Regions from separate parts of the Homo sapiens genome. Here all the other regions are linked to region 3. Evidence: promoter capture Hi-C in 16 types of primary human blood cells and fetal thymus (Javierre and others, 2016). All regions are on one chromosome and are shown on one strand. Each heading gives the region's core, a stretch centred on a gene start or on the middle of the fragment in contact. The rest is flanking DNA. Distances are from core to core; before and after follow the strand shown.

Region 1 (2,820 bases), core at 155-2,654, 380 kb after region 3:
GAGTGACTGTGACAAGCTGAGATGTGCCTTTAGGATAACCAAAGGTCAGAAAAGGATTAAGTAAATGACCCAGCTGGAGAAGGTAGAGAAACACCCTATCAAGGAGAACCTGACATTCTGAGGACAAGAGTGTTTGCTCGGGAAGAGCTAAGGAGAATGACACTCAGGGTGTGATCCGGGGAACAGCCTCAGATCAGAGAAGTGGAGTCTGGACTACGAAAACCGGAGGTTTTTCTGTGAGGAGAACCCAGGGAGGCTGCTGGCTGAGCTGGCGGGAATGTGGAGAAGAAAAGCAAAGACAAGAACCTGCTCCTGAGGTCTGGAGGTTGAGGAGAAAAGGAGTGTGGGTGAAGTAGTAATCTCAGAGACTGAGGCTAAGAGGAGAAGTCTCTGGACTGAATAAAGGCACCGCCACTAGAGAAGAACCAGAAGGTCCCAGAGTGCGTTATATCAAAATACCGGGGAATTGTTCTTAACATTTGCTTCAACTGTGTAACTGTATAATGCACACACCTCAACTTCCCCGTTCTATAGGAAGTGATACTTGCGTATCAACACTACAGTGCACCCTGTTGGGAAAAGAAGCATTGTTGGTGACCAGTAAATGAGGAAAGGAAGGATACTAACTTCAGTAGAGGGAATGCTGTTTCACAAAATACAGCTAAGAATGTTATGCATGCAATGTTGTCTTTTAATTTTCACAGTAACCCTCTGCAGTCAGTAATATTATCCCTGCTTCACAGACCTGAAGAGAAAAGAGTTTACTAATGTGGTCAAGATGCTCAGCAAGCTTAAGTCTGGTTTGAGCCGAAGCCCTCACTTCCCACCTTACCATGCCCGTGAGCACTCTCTGATCTGACTTGGAAATGAAGAGTTAAATTTAGGTGAGTCAAAATAGATCATTCAAGTGGAGAATAACCTGGCATCCTTATTTCTAAAATGCATGATAAACTTTCAGTATTTTACCTAATTTCCTGAAGATTCCAAAGAGATACTTAATTCTCAAGACCCCAAAAAGCCAGAAGCATTCCATTCTCCAAATGAAAAAATTGCATGTAATATTTTTTAAATGGAGCATCATTATATTCATGCCATTAATGGAATTAGATATGCTCAGATACATAAGCAGTATGCACAGTGTCCACATAATGTCTCAGACACACTAATCTGAGAGGTTGAGGAAATCAAATATTGTTAAATATTATTTAGAGATGTACAAAGGTAGCTCTCGGAGAGGAAGCCATCAGTAGGTTTATAACAAGTCCATGTTTTTCTTTTCTATTTTTGTATTAGGGAATAGATGTTGATAATCAAGAAAGATTACTTGTTTCCAGGGTGAAGGGGGAGGGAAAAAGCAACCAATTACACTAAATCAGAAGTATCATTTTGGGGGGGGTGTAATAACTGATAGGATGATGAGTGTTTTATTTAAAGTTCCAACAAATAATTTTAAGGAGAATGTTTCATTAATTCATGTGGTCACTCAGTTTTCATTCTTTCCTTCCAGTGCCAGCACTGGTAAGTGTGAGAGAAAAATGAGTAGGACATGGTCCTTTCCTCACAGTGAGGGCAATAGATACACATGAGCTAACTACAGTGAAATATGATAGGCTTTGCAAGGACAGATGAGCAAAAGGCTGTGGGAGCCAGAAGAAGGGAAGCATCTATTGCACCAAGACCTGTGTGACTGTTAAAGCTCCCCAAAGGCAGAAGCCAGGCCCCAGCCCCTGGAGTGACTGCCAACATAGCAGCTGCGGAGCCGCGGTTACACCATTGTAGCAACAGCCAGAAAGCAAGATGAAGCCAGGCCCGGCAGCCTCATGGTTGTGGTTAACAGGTGTTGAAGCAAGTGTGAAGGAAGTGTGAGATCAAACCACAGCTGGGTTTGGAGAGATAAACCTCTCTTAAATGCATAAAGAAATAACCTAAGCAGGCAATGTTGTCACTTCACTGAAGTTTAAGTTTGTCTTCAAATTTATCAGGATCCCAAGGTTTTTCCCATGGTTTTTCTAAGCTTTGACACTTACCTGGGTTACAGCTCTAATTTGGAAAAGGACAGAAATGTTGAGAATCAAATGCCTGGAAGTGAAAGATGAACTTCTGCAAGAAAGTGGCTGGAGTATTCATTAGCACTTTGTTTGGAACTTTCTCACCTGCTAAGTCCTCATCTGCTTCTTCCCTTAAAAATTGCAATGCTTTATTCATTCATTCATTTGTTAATTAAGTATGTATGGAGCACCTACTGTGGACTAAACTTTGATGATTCATAGATGATTAAATGCCATCACTCCTCTCTGGGAGTTCATCTTAATGGGAAGGCAACACTCAATCCCAATATAAGGCAATAAATGTGTAAAACATATCCTGGAAACACGATGGAGGAACTGATTTACCTGCCCAAGAAAGATGTCATAGGAGAGAATATCTTTGAGCTTGGGTGTAAAAGATATGTAGGGATTTTCAAATAGGATGGCAAAGAGATTTTTTTTTAATTTAATTTTTATTTTGGAGAAAGGGTCTCACTCTAACATCTACATTGGAGTGCAGTGGCACAATCATGGCTCACTGCGGCCTTGACTTCCCAGGCTCAGATGATTCTCCCACCTCAGCCTCCCAAGTAGCTGGGACTACAGGCACATACCACGGCACCTTGGTAATTTTTTGTATTTTTTTTTTGGTAGAGATGGGGCTTTGCCATGTTGCCCAGGCTGGTCTCAAAGTTCTGAACTCAAGTGATTCGCCCGCCTTGGCCTCTCAAAATGCTAGGATTACAGGCATGAACCACCATGCCTGGCCCAGAGAGTTTTTAAAGAGAGAAAA
Region 2 (2,700 bases), core at 1-2,500, 340 kb before region 3:
CTTCCACTACCAGTGGATCCTGGCTTGCCTCAAGTATTCCAATTACTTCAATAAAACTCTCAAACTACTCATTAACATAAGCCAAACGTTATAGGCTCCAAGAAAAAGAAAAACATGCTAACCCCATTATATCTGCTTAGGTGCCAATTTATAAGCAGGAATTCCCAAGGTCTGGCCTGTAGCCAAATCTTGACCTATGTTTTTGTAAATAAAGGAGCTTGTTTTTGTAAATAAAGTTTTATTGGAATACAGCCGTGCCCATCTGTTTTCATATTATCTATAGCTGCTTTCACATTACATTGTCAGAGTTAAGTAGTTGTGACAGAGACTATACAGCCTACAAAGCTGAAAATATTTACTCTCTGGCCCTTTATAGAAAAAGCATATCAAACCCTTTTCTAAATGCTAGGAGGAAGAGTGATATATTTAAACCCTACAATTAGGATGCTGCCCATTAGGATAAAGTTCCATTATAACAAAAATGTCATCTGAATGCTCTGTGGAGGTCCTGAAAATATCTACGTTTATCAGAATACTTCTATTCTCTGCAATAAACAAATGGAATAATGAAAGGCAAATGTCTTTGAAAGAAGCTGACCTCATGAATTCTATATGGTGGTACCAAATTGCTGATCAACAAGTATTTCTGTGATCACTTTGTAAGTCTGGCCATATAGCCTCCATTATTAGGAGCCCAAAACAAATACTAACTTATGTTAATTCCGGAAAAAATCGACAAACTTCTGGAAAGTTATAAGAGACCAAAAACAAGGTGGGGCGGGGTGGGGGTGGGGGTGGGGAATCGATTCCAGAATGTAAAACCACATTATTTCTTAGTCATGATTAGTTAGGAGGATGTATTGTTGTGACAAGGGGACAATAAAAGCTGGAGATTAACTCTTGGAGCCAGTTGGCAAGAGTTACAAAAACATGCCCCCAAAATCACACACTCTGAAAGAATATGAAGAGTTGATTCCATATAGGTGGGTGCTGAGCATGTAAATAAAGTGATCCCAGCAGTACTAATGGAAGCCCTCAGACACGGAAAAGAACCACCACGATAAGACAGTCTTCCTCAATAACATGCCTAAGACTCTGCGGGGATAGTCAGTGGCAGACTAATCTTCATTTCATTCCATCCTTTGGTCTTTTTGCTGAAGCTGAGAACTGAGGACTCAACAGCTAAAAGGCTTACTTCAGAAGGACAGGAGATGAATACTGACTCACCTAACAGTGTCAGATTTTGTCAGCTAGTAACTTTATATTTTGAGGCTAAGCCTGCCAGATACATCTTATCTCCACTACTAAAAGTACTAGTGATTGTGTCTGGATGAGATGAAGATAGCAGATGATTTCTGGCAGATTTTCCACAGCTCTGTACCCGCTGAGAAGGTGATAAGGACTGAAGAGAAGGCTGTGACAGACACACTGAACAACAGCTTGGGCTAGTTGCTGTGGCACTAATGTTGCAGCTCAGACTAAGCCAGACTCACTTCATGTCTCAGAAGACCATTTTTTCTAGACTAATTTGAGATTTTTTTTTTCTTTTTACGAATATCTCTGGCCGGGTGCAGTGGCTCACACCTGTAATCCCAGCACTTTGGGAGGCCGAGGTGGGCGGATCACAAGGTCAGGAGTTTGAGACCAGCCTGGCCAATATGGTGAAACCCCATCTCTACTAAAAACAGAAAAATTAGCCGGACGTGGTGGCGGGTGCCTATAATCCCAGCTATTCGGGAGGCTGAGGCAGGAGAATTGCTTAAATCTGGGAGGCAGAGATTGCAGTGAGCCGAGATCACGGCACTGCACTCCAGCCTGGGCCACAGAGTGAGACTCCATCTCTAAAAGCAAAACAAAACAAAAAACAACAACAAAAAAATACCTCTGGCAGACCTTCTGTTGTTGTTCTGAAGTGGGCAGTGCATTCCTTCAGCATATAGTAGGAGCTACTTTCTTAGTTATAAGTTTTAGGGTGCCATCCAATGAAAGAGTTTTTCCCTCTAACAGTCTTCTAAAATGCACTAGGTTTCTAGGTGGCTTTGGAGGACTACATTTTGATAAGTCTCCCTTTCTATTATGGAATATCTGAAATTGGTAAAAAAACAACTTTCTCAAGACAGAAGTTCCATTTTATGCAAACTCCAACTGGGAGGAGCCAGATATATAATAAATACTGTAGCTGATAAGTTGGAATAGGAGCAGTAAGCTAGTAAAAGTGAAGAATTAAAAAATCATTAAGAGGTAAGGAATAAGAACTGCAAATGTTGCTGCTGAGACTAACTTAAAATTCAAGAATATTGATTTTTAAGTCATGCTTCTAAATAAGGATAAATAGTATTTCAACAAATTATTAAGTTATTCTGCATTCACATTTGTAACAAATTCCTTTTATTATACCATTAAAATTATTTCATTACTATTACCAGCAGTGATAACAATACCCTCTCATATTTTTTTCTTTCTTTCTTTTTTTTTTTTTTTTTTTTGAGACAGGGTCATGCTCTATGGCCTAGGCTGGAGTGCAGTAGCATGAACATGGCTCACTGCAGCCTTGACCTCCTGGGATCAAGAGATCCTCCCACCTAAACCTTCCATGTAGCTGGGACCACAGGCGCATGCCACTGTGCCAGACTAATTTTTTTTTATTTTTTGTAGAGATGAGGGTCTCACTTTGTTGCCCAGACTAGTCTTGGAACTCCA
Region 3 (2,700 bases), core at 117-2,616:
TGCCATGGAAAGCTCTCATACCGCACTGAAGTCCAGTAGGTCGCTCAGCTCCTTGTCGGTCCCTATAGCGGCCATGCGTTGTTGCTGGGGATTCATCTTCGGCCACTTCTAGCAGGTCCTAGGGCAGAGGAAACGGGCTCAGCGAGAGACCACCGAGGCCCAAAGTGTGTGAGGGAACAGAGAGAGGTACTGGGGAAGATTACGCAAGAGCGCTGGGGGCGCCGGGATGACTTCCAGGACCCCGACTCGCTCCCACCGCGGCGCGAGCAAGGGGCGGGAGGGCTCAGTGCCCGCGCCGGGTCCCGGAATCCACGCGTTCCTCGCCGCGGCCCGAGATCGACGCGGCGGCTCCCGCAACTCGCCGCCTCTCCCCCAAGTTTCCGAGCCAGTCTCTGCCACCTCCTCGGCGCCCCCTGCTCCGCGCCGCCGCCGGGTGCTCCGCGCGCCGGGCCCGGCCGCGGCTGGGGTCTCGAGGAGCGGGGTGAGGGGCAATTCGGCGTCCAGCGAGCGGAGCGGCGGCGAGCGGAGATGCGAAGTGACTCACTCGCTCGGCAACAATAGAACTGACAAGTTGCAGGGAACGCGCCGCTCGCAGGCCCGCGTCTGCGGCCGCCGCCGCCCGGACGTCCCCGGCGGGCCCAGGAGGTCGGAAAGCACCCCCAGCTCATCCAAGGGGCGTTTTTAAACAGAAAACAGAAACCCCGACAACTAGTCTCGCTCTCGGCCGGCGTCCTCCTCCCCAGGCTCGGCCTCCTCCCACTTTTGCTGCCCTGCCCCGGACCTGCCGAACAATGAGCCTGGCTCCGCGGCCGAAGCCGCCCGATCTCCCGCGCGCCCCGGAGCCTGGGCGCCGGCCCGAGTCGGGCACCGAACGGGGCGCACAGGCCGAGCGCGCCGCCAGCGGGCCTGAGCGCCCGCGACTCGAGCCTCCGCCCCCACTCCGCTCCCCAACTTGGAGGGGACCCCGGGTTTCGCGCTGTACAAAGGGGCGCGGAGTTGAGGCGGGGGACGGGGGCGCCCCCACTCCGGCAGGGACGCGGCGGCGCCCCGCAGCCCCCAGCCCCGCCGCGCCGCCCCACTCCCGCTCGCTAGCCCGCAATTACCTGCCGCCCCGTCTCCGCATCCAACCACCCCGATTAAAGTTCACTTTGGCCGGGAGAACGGGCTTGGGCTTCCCCTTGCACCGCCCAGCGGCTCGGTTCACTTTGCCCCGCACGAGCTCTCGGGTCTGGGAGGGGGAGGCGGCTTTCGGGCCTGGCCGCCCCTTCCTCCCGGGGCGGGCTGTCGGTCCCCCCGAATAGAACTTGTGGGTCTCTTCAGGCGGACATTTTTTTCGCTGAGGCGGCCTCACCACCGCGCTCGGCTCGCCTCCGGATCCCTCCGCGCCGGGAAGAGCCGCGGGTTAACCCTTCCCTCCCCGACCCGCTCCGCCGCCTAGGAAGTGGGGCCGGCAGAGGGGGCGGGGAGGAGCTGTCGGGGACTGGGAGGAGCCGCACCGCGGCGGGTGGACAAAGCCCGCGGTCGGGTGAGGCGGGACGGAGTTGGGGCCGGTGGGGAGGGGCATGAGGCGCTCGCAGGCACCTCGAGAAGCAGGCCCCGACCGCTCGCCGACGAAGCCTCGTCCGGGCCTCCTGGGAGCGGGGTGGCAGGTACCGTGGCGCCTCCTCGCGTTGGTCTTGCTGGTTCTCGGCCCCCGAAGCGGAGCGACGGAGACACAGCTGTGGAAGCATCTGGATCCGCTGCCCAGGTCCCCGAGCTTCCCGGAACCCGAGGCCGCAGGACACTGAAGGCTGCCATTCCCGAGTAGGTCACGCTGGACGCCACCCTAAGCTGGGCCCAGAGGCTCCCGTCCAGGAGGGCTGCAGTCGGCGCAGACACCGCGCGTGTGGAGACGGGAGACCCATCCTCCTCGGCCGTTCCGAGAGTAGGCGCGGCCGGTCAGATTCGATGCAGAGCCGAATGCGGGAGAAAGGGCAAAACGTACCTCAAACCAGACAAAGCCTTGTGAGCTTCAGGTTCTCAAATACCCCACTCACCCAGACCCCACATCTCCAGTCAGCCCCTCGCACCCAAATCCCATTCGGAGCAACCGAACTGCACGTGGGACTAGTTCTTGGGAATGGATCAAGCCAGTCTCTTCATCTAACGGAGACAGCCCTGGGTGGCTCTGTCACACAGCCACTGTCTTGTGCACAAGTTCTGAACTTGGCCTCAGAGAAGCCCCAGAGTAGAAAGAAGACAAAATAAGCCCCAGTTCTTCGATTCTGGGCTGAAGTGAGATTTTCTTGAATGGCAGCCATTGTTTTGCCTCTTAGGTAAGTGAGTGCAGTAAAGACCGGTAAGGCCCACGCAGAAGAAACACTGAGGAAAGAAGACACTTCCAAAGTAACAAATGGGAGGAAGCAGCCAACGCCCGAGGACAACATGGCAAGAAGGAGCCTTTGGATTCCGGACTGGGATGGAAAGAGAGGTAGATTCAGCTACCATATGCCATTACTGTAGTTAGTACAGTTGTCTCTATATCCGTGGGATTGGTTCCCAGACTCTGGATTTTCTAAGATGTTCAAGTCTCTTACATAAAAATGGTGTGTTTCCCCATATACTTTAAATCATATCTAGATTACTTATAAAACCTAATACAATGCAAATGCTATGTGAATAGTTGTTAAGGTGTATTTAGGAAATAATCATCCAAAGAAA
Region 4 (2,780 bases), core at 24-2,523, 450 kb after region 3:
AAGAATGATAAACACTATTAAATACAGTACAATGTTATCTCTGGGTGGAAGAAATGAGACAGGAGAGGTGCTCTGATGCACAGAGCCAGGTTCCACATTTTTTCTTGTGTCAGATTATGGATACATGGGTGTTTATATTATTCTTCTCACCTTTCTGTATGTCAGAGATATTATTGGTGCAAATAAACATGACACAGAAGTAGAAACTGGATATTGGAAATCAAAGTTCAATAAACTAGAACTTTTGAGATTTAATTTTTAAATCTAAAGTAGATATGAACTATAATATTTAAGAGAAACATAGAAAATATCAGTACTGCTTAAATACATAAGCATTAAAAGGAGTGCATGGGCTGGGCATGGTGGCTCATGCCTGTAATCCCAGCACTTTGGGAGGCCAAGGCAGGCAGATCACTTGTCGTAAGGAGGTCGTGACCAGCCTGGCCAACATGGTGAAACCACATCTCTACCAAAAAACACAAAAATTAGCTGGGCATGGTGGCAGGTGCCTGTAGTCCCAGCTACTCGGGAGGCTGAGGCAGGAGAATCACTTGACCTGGGAGGTGGAGGTTGCAGTGAGCCTAGATCACGCCACTGCACTCCAGCCTGGGCAACAACTCCATCTCAAAAAAAAAAAGAAAAAAAAAAGGGAGGATATGATGAGATACTTCTCTATTAACTGGAAATCCAAACTGATTTTTTTTTACTAAAAAATTTGCTAGAAAATAAACCAACATGTCTTTCTATTAATAATTCAATGTTGACCCAAGTACAGGTAAAGGCAAGGGAAGGGAAGGCAGGCAGAAAGCCAAAGAAAAATAAAGAGAACATAATGGAATTAGATAAAGTAGACGTGGGCAGAATTAAATTCCCTGATCACAGATATCCTTGAGAATTTCAGAAATTGGTGAAGAACTTCCTAAAACCACTGTCATTTCATAAAACTCTAGCAGAGTGCCTGCTGAGGTTCTGAATACTAGGGGGGAGGGGGGCGGTGGGGGGAAGTCAGTACAACTTTTTTTAAATAGAAAAGAATGGTTTAAGTATTACAATGTGTCTATCAGGTCAAATTTCTTGGCCTGAAAGCTTTTGAACCTTTTGTGAAAGCATTAATTTGCAATCTTAAAAAATAATGTTGGACTTAAAATCAACATGAGTTGGTGAAGATTAAAATCTGTCAGTTTAATCTAATTTTCTTCTATGACAGGTCTGTTAAAGGGCAGCGACAGTGTAATTAATTGCTTGAGGCTCAGAAACCCAATTAATCTCTAAGTTGACTTTTATTTCACAGAATGTTAGTGCTACATGAGGCCTCAAGGATATTCTACCCTATCCTCTTCATTTTATAGAAGAGGAAATAGACATCAGGGAGGTTAAATGACTTGTTCAAGGTCAAAGATACTGTCTATTCTTGCCACCGTACCCTATAAATTGATTCAGTATTGCATCCTTAAAGCTTGTATGAGTTTCTGTGTTTCTGATCATGACATACTATTTGAACACAGATGGTTCTTTTGTTATAGTCTTTTATAAAATACCTGGACATTCATCTCACGAATGTTTTCTTGTAAGGGTTTTCAAGCCTCAGTTTTTAAAATTTGAAACATTTTCCATACTCTTTATGCAGTAACAGTTGTAAAAAGGGAGTGGGGAAGAACTGTGTCCTAATTTGCATACTTAGCAGGCGAACTCTGGGAAGGAGATGCAGTAGGTGTTTTGCCTTAAGTGGGATGTTGGGAAACAGGGATTGCAGTTTGACCGTGTGAGTGATGTCTAATCCAGGTGGTACTTGCAGGCCATGCCATCCCTCAAGGATTCTATGTGTCTGATTCCAAGATGTGGGCAGAAAATCTAGCATGTAGAGTATTTTTAGAGAAGAGCTCAGTGAGGCAGCAATAATAACAAATATGATGTATGAGAAGATCAGAGGAAATGAGAGCCACTATCAGTGTGGGAAGCATGGTGGTATGCCATATGTCAGTGTGGCAGCCATGGAAGTGCCCTGCTCAGAATTGTCCTTAGGGGAACCTGCTGCAAGGAAGGTGCTCCTCCCTGAACCTCCAGATGCTACACATTCAGATTTGCTGCTGCGTCCATGCTGAGACCATGCTATCCCCTAAGTACTCCTGGCCAATGCCAGGATATGAGAGCCAGGGCTTTTGACACAACATGGGACATATCTAATGGGAAGTCTTTGCTTGGAGACTTCCCATTAGCCTGGTAGAAACTCTCTCAGAATTGTGCTGCTGCTTGAGGCTCCTTTTTCTTTTCCTCTCTGCTTTTATGAGTTAGATCTATATTATGGTCTCTTTTTCCCCTCCCTCTTTAGCTTTCTTAGGACTTTCTCCAAATAAACCTCTTGACCATCCAATTCCATCCCAGCATTTGCAACTCAGAGGACGCTAACTGATGCAGAGTGTGGCGATTGCCCTGGTCGATGCCAAGGAGGGATAAAAATATACATAACTTGAGTAGGAATTAGGATCTTATTCTGCTGGTGGGGACTGATTAGCAATGGTTTCTCTTTGGTTGTTGTAGTTACCATTATCGCAGTTCCTCATTTATGCTCTCTCATGATGGCACGGCATTAGGATAAATGCATTGTAGTAAAATTTACTTCCAGAGAGAAAAAAAATCCATGTTTTCACAGATTCTAAGACTTTTTTTTTTTGCATTTTAACCTTTCTGAAATTGGGATATCTTTAAATAGATTATTTGCTACAATTTAATTAGTAGGATTGTTTTCTTCTTTACTGATGAATAAAATAATGGTGCATATC
Region 5 (2,920 bases), core at 181-2,680, 470 kb after region 3:
CAGAGTATGCCTCCTCTCAGCAGTGTCAGAATTGCTAAGAGTGTTTTTATTTTGTGCACAAGCCATATTAAAATTTTCACTGTCATGCAGAAATGGACTGTATTTCAAATTGGCATGTCTAAATTCAGGGAACTGCTCTGGTGCTTAAAATGTGTCCTAATTTATTTAAAATCACCTATATTAAGATTTAGCTTTTTTAATGTAAAAGAAATTAATTTTTTAAATGCACGGCACATTTAAAAAATCATTGAAGTTTATTTTGAAAATATTTCTTTGAGCTCAGAAATCATGACTCCTGTTAATTGATTTTGGAACACATGGTTTTGTAATCCAAGAAAGTACTTAAAAGATAATTTAACTTTGCTGCTGTTTTTAACTGGAGTTGGGAAACTCACTGTTTATTTTTAGAAATCCTATTTTAAATTATGGCACTAAACAATTAGTAGTTATAATTAATTGCCCAATTAACTAAATGTATTTATTACACAGTTAACACATACTGTTATGAAAGCAAAAGCAAGTACCTCATATCTCATTTATATTTAAGTTCAGCAAAAACCATTTCAAAGAAAAGACAGAGACAGTTTTTCCTTCTTAATACTATTACCATTACCTAGCTTATACCAGTATAATTATGTTCTGGACTGATAATCAAGCTGTTAATTCATAAAATAGATGAGATAGATTAAAAGAGCACAAAATAACATTTTCTGAGAAACAAAAACAGAAGATTGATCACCAATAATCCTGCATTAAAGGGAATACTAGCAGTTCTTCATTAGGTATTAATAGAAGAAGAAAAATGATCCCAAGCTTAATTTCAGAACTGCAAGAGGTACATGTATAGTAAATTTAGTTGATATTTGAATGTATAAAATATTTATTATGTCTTTTGGGAATTAAAATATGTAAAGAGTTAAAAATATGACAAAATGAGATAGGAAGTAAATGAAGTTAAAGTCAAGAATCTTGCATTGTCAAATAATAATGAATAAATTTATTCACCTGGAAACAAAGAAACATGCTGTAATATCTGTAATAAAAATTTGGAAAAGAAAATATAACTGACTAATAGAGAATAAAATACGATAATAGGAATTGATTATTCCAAAAAACTCATGTAAAAAAGAGTTAACATAGCAGGCTTGAGGCTATCTTAGAAAGTCCTCCTTGCAAGTTTGGTCTTTGGCTGGTTTCTGGAAACTAGGCTTTTGAGAAGGTTCTTACCACCTTAACTGCTGAGGATGATTCACTGTGGCTAAAATGTGAAAACAATATGGATTAGGCCGGGTGCGGTGGCTCATGCCTGTAATCCCAGCACTTTGGGAGGCCGAGGTGAGTGGATCGCAGGGTCAGGAGATCGAGACCATCCTGGCTAACACGGTGAAACCGCGTCTCTACTAAAAATACAAAAAATTAGCCGGGCCTGGTGGCACACGCCTGTAGTCCCAGCTACTTGGGAGGCTGAGGCAGGATAATCGCTTGAACCTGGGAGGCGGAGCTTGCAGTGAGCCAAGATCGCGCCACTGCACTCCAGCCTGGGCGACAGAGAGAGACTCTGTCTCAAAAAAAAAAAAAAGAAAAAAAGAAAACAAAACAATATGGATTATACTGAATACCCATTTTCTTTCTGGGAGTCTGGAATATTGGTACGTTCTAAGTAGAGGGTGCCTAAGTTACCACCCCCAATAAGAACCCAGAGCACTGAGTTCTGATGAGCTCTAATGTTGTCTGCCAGGCATTTCACACGTCACAACTCATTGCTCGGGGAATTAAGCGTGTCCTGTGTGTTTCCACAGGTAGAGGCCTTTTGCACCTAGTTTTCTCTGAATTTCACCCATGTGCCTTTTTCCTTTGCCAATTTTGCTGTGTTTCGTTTCTTTATAGTAAGTCATAGCCGTGAGTATAACTATATGCTGAGTCCTGTATCCTCCTAGTGAATCATCTAACCTGATGGTGGTCTTGGGAACCCCCAACACAGAAGCAAACAGGAGAGAAGAGAGAACATAGGACAGGGAAGACAAGTAGAAAGAAGATATAAGCTTGTAAATGGAAACCCAATTATATTAGTAGTTATAGTAAACATATTTGAACCATTTGCCAAAATTGATGAAATGTTGTATCAGAATAAAAATATCAACAGATTTTCAGAGGAATCAATTTATACATAGTATTTTCTCTGTCCATAGTGGAATTAAACTAGACGTAAGTAATAAAAAAAAATCTAGGCAATCTTTATATGCTTAGGTATTTAAAAATGTGCTTCACATTACCCTTTGGTCAAAAAGTACAGATGCTCCTTGATGTACGATGGGTTCATGTCCCAATAAACTACATTTTCAATTTACGACAGGTTTATTGGGATGCATCCCATCATGAATTGAGGAACCTACTGTGAATGCATATGGTTTTCTCACCATTGTAAAGTCAAACCATCATTAATCAGAGACTGTCTATAATCAAAATTGAAATTAGAAAGTATTTTTAACTGAATAATAATGAAAATACCACATACTAAAAGTTGCAGGATTGGACTGATATTAGCAAAATAGCAGAGTAGGCAGCTCCCAGCTCCTGTCTCTCCTCCCAGCCCATCCCCCGACTACAAACATCAGAAAACAAGCAGAAACTCTCAGAACCAATTTTATAAGAAATTTGGGTAGCATTCAAAGGTTTATTGCAATCAAGCAAATGCTGAAACAAGAAAAAGCCTAAAAATGGTAGTAAAGTTCTGTGGTATCTTCACTTGCCCTTTCCTCATTCCCTCCTAGCTCAGAGGCAGGTAGCCCTTGTTCCCAATGCAGGACCCTGGTCCCTGGTTCAGGAGGAGCAGAGCAGATCTTATTCACAAATTGTTGGGTATATCTGTTCTAACCTACCTTGGGACTACGTGAAAAACTAACACAAGGCACTTATCTGT
Region 6 (2,700 bases), core at 101-2,600, 400 kb after region 3:
TTTGCTAATATTTTGTTGAGGACTACTAGGTTCCTCAACATAGGTTGCATCTATGTCCATCAGGGATACTAGCCTGTAGTTTTCTTTTTTCATTGTGTCTTTGCTAGGTTTTGGTATCAGGGTGATGCTAGCTTTGTAGAATAAGTTAGGGAGGAGTCCCTTCTCCTTGATTTATTGGAATAGTTTCAGTAGAATTGATACCAGTTCTCTGTACATCTGGTAGAATTGGATATGAATCCCTCTGGCCCAGGGCTTTTTTTGGTTGGCAATTTTTTTTTATGATGGATTCAATTTTGGAACCCTATATCGATCTGTTTGCAGTTTCAGTTTCTTCCTGATTCAATCTTGGCAGGTTGTGTGTTTCCGTTTCCTCTAGATTTTCTAGTTTATGTGCATAGAAGTGTTAATAATAGTCTCTGGGATCTTTTGCATTTCTGTGGGATTGGTTGTAATGTCACCTTTGTTGTTTCTGATTGTGCTTATTTGGATCTTCTCTCTTTTTTCTTTGTTAATCTAGCTAGCATTCTATTGATCTCGTTTATCCTTTCAAAAGACAAACTCTTAGTTTTGTTAATTCTTTGGATGAATTTTTGGATATCAATTTCCTTCAGTTCTGCTCTGATTATAGCTTTTTAAAAAAATTTTCTGCTAGCTTTGGGCTTAGTTTGCTCCAGTTTTTCTAGTTCCTCTAGATGTGATGTTAGATTGTTAATGTGAGATCTAACTTCTTTATGTAGGTGTTTAGTGTGAAAAGCTTTCCTCTTAACACTGCTTTTGCTACATGCCAGAGATTCTGATATGTTGTGTCTCTGTTTTCAGTTACTTAAAAGGATTTCTATTTTTGCCTTAATGTTGTTGTTTACCCAAAAGTCATTCAGGAGCAAGTTGTTTAATTTCCATTTAATTGTGTGGTTTTTGAGGGATCTTCTTGGTATTTATTTCTATTTTTATTCCACTGTGGTCCAAGGTAAGTTGGTATGATTTCAATTTTTAAAAATGTGTTGAGACTTGGTTTATGACCAAGCATGTGGTTGATCTTAAATTATGTTCCACATACAGATAAGAATGTATATTCTATGGTTGATGGGTGAAGTAGTCTGTAGATGTCTATTAGGTACAATTGGCCAAATTGATTTAAGTCCAGAATTTCTTTGTTAATTTTATGTCTTGATGATCTAACACTTTGAGTGGGATGTTGAAGTCCCTCACTATTAATGTGTGGATATCTAAGTTTTTTCATAGGTCTAGAAGTACTTGTTTTATGAATCTGAGTACTCCAATATTAAGTGCATATATATTTAGGATAATTAAATCTTTTTGTTGAATTAAACCTTTTATCACTGTGTAATGCCTTTCTTTGTCCTTTTTTACTGTTGTTGATTTCAAGTCTATCTGATACAAGAATAGCAAACCATGTTCTTTTTTTTTCCTGTTTGTTGTAATAGATCTTTCTCCAATCCTTTCCTCTGTGCCCATGGATATCATTAAGTGTAAGATGGGCCTTTTGAAGATAGAAGATGGATGGATCTTGCTTTCTTTTTTAATTTAACTTGCCACTGTGTGCCTTTCTGATGGGGCAGTTAGACCATTTACATTCAAAGTTAGCATTGCTATGTGAGGTTTTCATCCTATTGTGAAGTTGTTAGCTGGTTGCTTTGCAGTATCTATTGTGTAGTTGCTTTATAGGGTTTGTGGACTATGTACTTAAGTGTGTTTTTGTGGTAGCAGATACAGTTCTTTAGTTTCCATGTTTAAAACCTTGAGGATCTCTTGTTAGGGTGGTCTAGTGGTAAAAATTTACCTTAGTAGCTGCTAGTCTGGAAAAGATTTTATTTTTCCTTTGTTTATGGAGCTTAGTTTGATGGGATATAAAATTCTTGGTTGGAATTTGTGTTCTTTAAGAATGCTGAGTAGGCCCCCAATCTCTTCTGACTTGTGTAAGCTTTCTTCTGCTAAGAAGTCTGTTGTTATCCTGATGAGGCTCCCTTTGTAGGTCATCTAACCTTTTTCTCTAGCTGCCCTTAGGATTTTTTCCTTAGTGTTGACTTGGGGCAGTCTTGTCACTTTATGCCTTGGTGATGATTGTTTTGTATAGTATCTTGCTGATATTATATGTATTTCTTGTACCTGGATGTCTACCCGTCTAGCAAGATTAGGGAAATTTTCTTGGATTATTCCCTCAAATAGGTTTTCCAGGTTGTTTACCTTTTCTCCTTCTCAGGAATGCCAATAATTTGTAGATTTTTTCACTTTATATAATCCTACCTTTCTCAAAGACTTGTTTATTTTTTAAAATTCTTATTTTTTTTTTCTGAATGGATTAGTTTGACAGATTGATCTTCAAGCTCTGAAATTTTTTCTTCTACTTGGTCTACTCTATTGATAAAGTTTTCAATTGTATTGAGAAATTCCTTATGTGAATTTTTTAAGTTCAGAAGCTCTGATTGATTTTTTAAAGATGTTTATCTCTTCCTTCATTTCCTGGATTGTTTAGAAGTTTCTTTGTGTAGATTTTCAACCTTGTCTTGAAATTTATCGAGCTTCCTTGATACCCATGCTGTGAATTCTTTATTTGTCATTTCTGAATTTCCATTTTGGTTAGTGACCATTGCTGGAGAGCTAGAAAGATCTCAAATTAACAAATAGTGTCACAGTATTCAGATTTTTTCATGGTGCCAGAATTTTTATGCTGGTTCCTTC
Region 7 (2,738 bases), core at 68-2,567, 430 kb after region 3:
GGACAGGTGCACCAATCATCAAAGATAGAAACCCCTAAGGAAGGTAAAAGTAAAGCCTGAGGGATCTCAGGTGAGGGAGGTAATGAGTCAGCTGAGGGACTCAGCATGGTGTTATGGAGAAGGTGGACCTTGACCTTGGCTTTGAAGGATGTGTAATATTTGATTATGTGGAATAAGGGGAAAGTGTGGTGGTGTGAAAGCACATCCAGGGAGGGTACTGTAAAGGGAGAATATCAGAAACTAAGACATGAGTGCCTTAGGGTCAAACTACAGAAGGTCTTTTTATTTTATTTTTATTTAAGAGAAGATCTCACTCTGTTGCCCAGGCTGGAGTGCAGTGGTGTGATCATGGCTCACTGCAGCCTCAAACTCCCTGGGCTCAGGTGACCCTTCCACCTCAGCCTCCTGAGTAGCTGGGACTACAGGTGCACACCACCATGACAGGCTAATTTTTGTATTTGTTGCAGAGATGAAGTGTCACCATGTTGCCCAGGCTGTTCTCAAACTCCTGGGCTCAAGCAATTCTCCCGCCTCAGCTTCTCATTTACTTTAGTTTCTTAAGAGACAGGGTCTTGCTGTGTCACCCAGGCTGGAGTGCAGTACCATGATCGTGGGTCACTGGAGTCTTGACTCCTGGGCTCAAGCAATCCTCCAACCTCAGCCTCCCGAGTAGCTGGGACCACAGGAGCATGCCACAATGCCCAGCTAGTTTTTATTTTATTTTATTGTAGAGACAAGGTCTCACTGTGTTGTCCAGGCAGGTCTCAAACTCTTGGGCTCAAGCGATCCTCCCACCTTGGCCTCTCAAAGTACTGAGATTATGGGTGTGAACCACCATGCCTGGCCTACAGAAGGTCTTGAATGGCAATGAAGAAGCTTGTATTCTGTTGAGCAGGAAGCGGGACTGGAGGAAGAAATTGTAAAAATTCCAGCTTCTTGAATATGTATTTGGCTCCTTTTAAAAAAATGGATTCTCCATCCAGCTGTCCATTTATCATTTATAGAGAGATTAATATAGGAGATTCTGGTGGGGACTAGATATCTGCTAAGTTTACTTCTTAATCGATATTACATGATTGGGATTTTTGAGCCATAAATTGACCCTACATTATAGGAGGGAAGACCTTGCATTTTTTTTGTACTTAGTAGGTGCTCAATGAAGGCTTCCTCAATTAACAGATTACATGAACAGGGTTGTGTTTCAGAAAGAGGAATTTGGCAGCAAGGTTTAAACTAGATTGGCAAGAAGGGAGAGACTGGATACAGGAAGGCTGCTTAGGACATTATTACTCATTTTCAAGGCCTAAACTAGGTGAGTGGAAATAAGAGTTGAACGAAGAGTAACATTGGGGAAGTAGAATCAAGATTGCTATTTTGTTGTGATTATTTGTGACCCTCTTCCTCAATGAATTGACAGTTTCATGAGAGCAAGAACTCTAACTTATTTGGCATTGTATCCCCACTACCTAACAATAACTAGCACATGTATGTGCTGAGTATGTATTCAATGAGCTGTGGAATAAATGTTGACTGGCTTTTGGAATAAGTAATTGAGATAGTGTTATTTGAGGGGCATTGGCCATCCAAGCCCCGGGACAAGGAGCAGCCAGAGATGCTGGATGTGAGCCTAGCATTTGAGTGACCCTGGCCCAGGGCAGAAGGGACACAGCACACAGCAGCAATCTCTGCCTTCTCACTATCCACTCCCTTTAGCCTGTGCTGGGCAGGCCTTCACCCCTACATCCTATAAAAGCTTTTCACATTTGAGTCACCCACACCCTCATGTCCTTCTCCCCTCTCTCTCTCTCTCTCTCTCTCATTTTACTTAATGTCTCATTAGCATTTGACACAGTTGATCATGCCATTCTTGGAACAGTCTCTTCACTTAACTTCCAGGATACTACTGTCCTGGTTTTCTTCCTACCTTGCTGATGGCTCTTTTCATTCTAGTAATTCTGGCTTAGCTTTCTCTTCCCATTTTTTTAAGAGATGGGGTCTTGCTCTGTCACTTAGGCTGGAGTGTAAGGTATGAACATAGCTCACTGTAGCCTTGACCTCCTGGGCTTACGTGATTCTCCCCTCAGCCTGTCAAACAGCTACAATTAACAGTTTTTAATCAGTGGTTTCCACCTTAGCTGCACGTTAGAATCACTGAGGAGTTTTAAAATTTCTTGATACTCAAACTGAACCCCAGACCAATTAAATCAGATATGTGAAGGATGGGTAGAGGTTCAACATTTAAAAAAAAATCTTCTGGTAATTTCAATGGGCATGGAGTGTTGTAAACCACTTCTGTAAATATTGAAGTTCCTCAGGGCTCAGTCCTTGATCTCTTATACCCTTGATCTCCTTGATATCCCTAGTCCCATGGGTTCCAAAAGCATCTTTATCAGTTGATGTGTAGATCTATACTTCTAGCCCCAGCTTCTCTTCTGAACTATAGATTTATATACACAAGTGTCCTATTTAAGATCTTCAGTAGGATGTAGACATCTCAGATTTAACACGTCCAAACACAAGTCTTTATTTTTCCCTGGCCTCCAAGTCTACTCCTCCAGTGTTCTCCATCCCAACTGATGGTACCATCATTCATTCAGTTATGCCAGGAAGGACACCTGGGAGATATATTTGAGTCATCTCTTTGTCATTCCTTACACCTAATCCATTGCCAAGTCCTGTTGGTTTTATTTCTAAAATTCATTCTGAACCCAATCAGTTCCCATAACCTCTACAGAGCA

Evidence for each region. The method cuts DNA at HindIII sites, captures the fragments that hold promoters and counts their contacts. A CHiCAGO score of 5 or more calls a contact.
Region 1: a fragment that was not itself captured here is called in contact with the fragment with the promoter of TCF12 in region 3 in 1 of 17 cell types (fetal thymus); the score reaches 11.9 in fetal thymus.
Region 2: a fragment that was not itself captured here is called in contact with the fragment with the promoter of TCF12 in region 3 in 2 of 17 cell types (naive CD8 T cells and non-activated CD4 T cells); the score reaches 6.3 in naive CD8 T cells.
Region 4: a contact is called between a fragment that was not itself captured here and the fragment with the promoter of TCF12 in region 3, in 1 of 17 cell types (fetal thymus). The highest score is 8.0, in fetal thymus.
Region 5: a fragment that was not itself captured here is called in contact with the fragment with the promoter of TCF12 in region 3 in 1 of 17 cell types (fetal thymus); the score reaches 7.5 in fetal thymus.
Region 6: a contact is called between a fragment that was not itself captured here and the fragment with the promoter of TCF12 in region 3, in 1 of 17 cell types (fetal thymus). The highest score is 5.9, in fetal thymus.
Region 7: a contact is called between a fragment that was not itself captured here and the fragment with the promoter of TCF12 in region 3, in 4 of 17 cell types (fetal thymus, endothelial precursors, M1 macrophages and 1 more). The highest score is 19.5, in fetal thymus.

What each region holds. Positions count from the first base shown.
Region 1 is chr15:56,537,030-56,539,849 of GRCh38, reverse strand. All of the region lies in intron 1 of LOC105370832 (a long non-coding RNA gene), which reads left to right. Among named protein-coding and RNA genes, the nearest start is that of MNS1, 73 kb to the right of the region's middle. The HindIII fragment of the contact is 1,224 bases long and covers 793-2,016 here.
Region 2 is chr15:57,254,644-57,257,343 of GRCh38, reverse strand. All of the region lies in intron 16 of TCF12 (transcription factor 12), which reads right to left. Among named protein-coding and RNA genes, the nearest start is that of SNORD13D, 23 kb to the left of the region's middle. The HindIII fragment of the contact is 4,849 bases long and covers 1-2,700 here.
Region 3 is chr15:56,917,310-56,920,009 of GRCh38, reverse strand. It overlaps TCF12 (transcription factor 12), which reads right to left and starts at 1,366. Exons shown (of 21, transcript NM_207037.2): 1 at 1,104-1,366; 2 at 22-118. The coding sequence starts at 96. It overlaps TCF12-DT (TCF12 divergent transcript), which reads left to right and starts at 1,511. Exons shown (of 4, transcript NR_015419.2): 1 at 1,511-2,470. RefSeq lists silencers at 327-766, 817-1,106, 1,197-1,246, 1,417-1,546, 2,067-2,206. The HindIII fragment of the contact is 11,533 bases long and covers 1-2,700 here.
Region 4 is chr15:56,471,637-56,474,416 of GRCh38, reverse strand. No RefSeq gene overlaps it. Among named protein-coding and RNA genes, the nearest start is that of MNS1, 7.9 kb to the right of the region's middle. The HindIII fragment of the contact is 370 bases long and covers 1,089-1,458 here.
Region 5 is chr15:56,451,182-56,454,101 of GRCh38, reverse strand. The region is part of intron 3 of MNS1 (meiosis specific nuclear structural 1); the gene reads left to right. It also overlaps a transcript of TEX9 not described here. Among named protein-coding and RNA genes, the nearest start is that of MNS1, 12 kb to the left of the region's middle. The HindIII fragment of the contact is 1,229 bases long and covers 816-2,044 here.
Region 6 is chr15:56,519,324-56,522,023 of GRCh38, reverse strand. The region is part of intron 1 of LOC105370832 (a long non-coding RNA gene); the gene reads left to right. Among named protein-coding and RNA genes, the nearest start is that of MNS1, 56 kb to the right of the region's middle. The HindIII fragment of the contact is 1,188 bases long and covers 757-1,944 here.
Region 7 is chr15:56,488,054-56,490,791 of GRCh38, reverse strand. It overlaps a transcript of LOC105370832 not described here. Among named protein-coding and RNA genes, the nearest start is that of MNS1, 24 kb to the right of the region's middle. The HindIII fragment of the contact is 877 bases long and covers 879-1,755 here.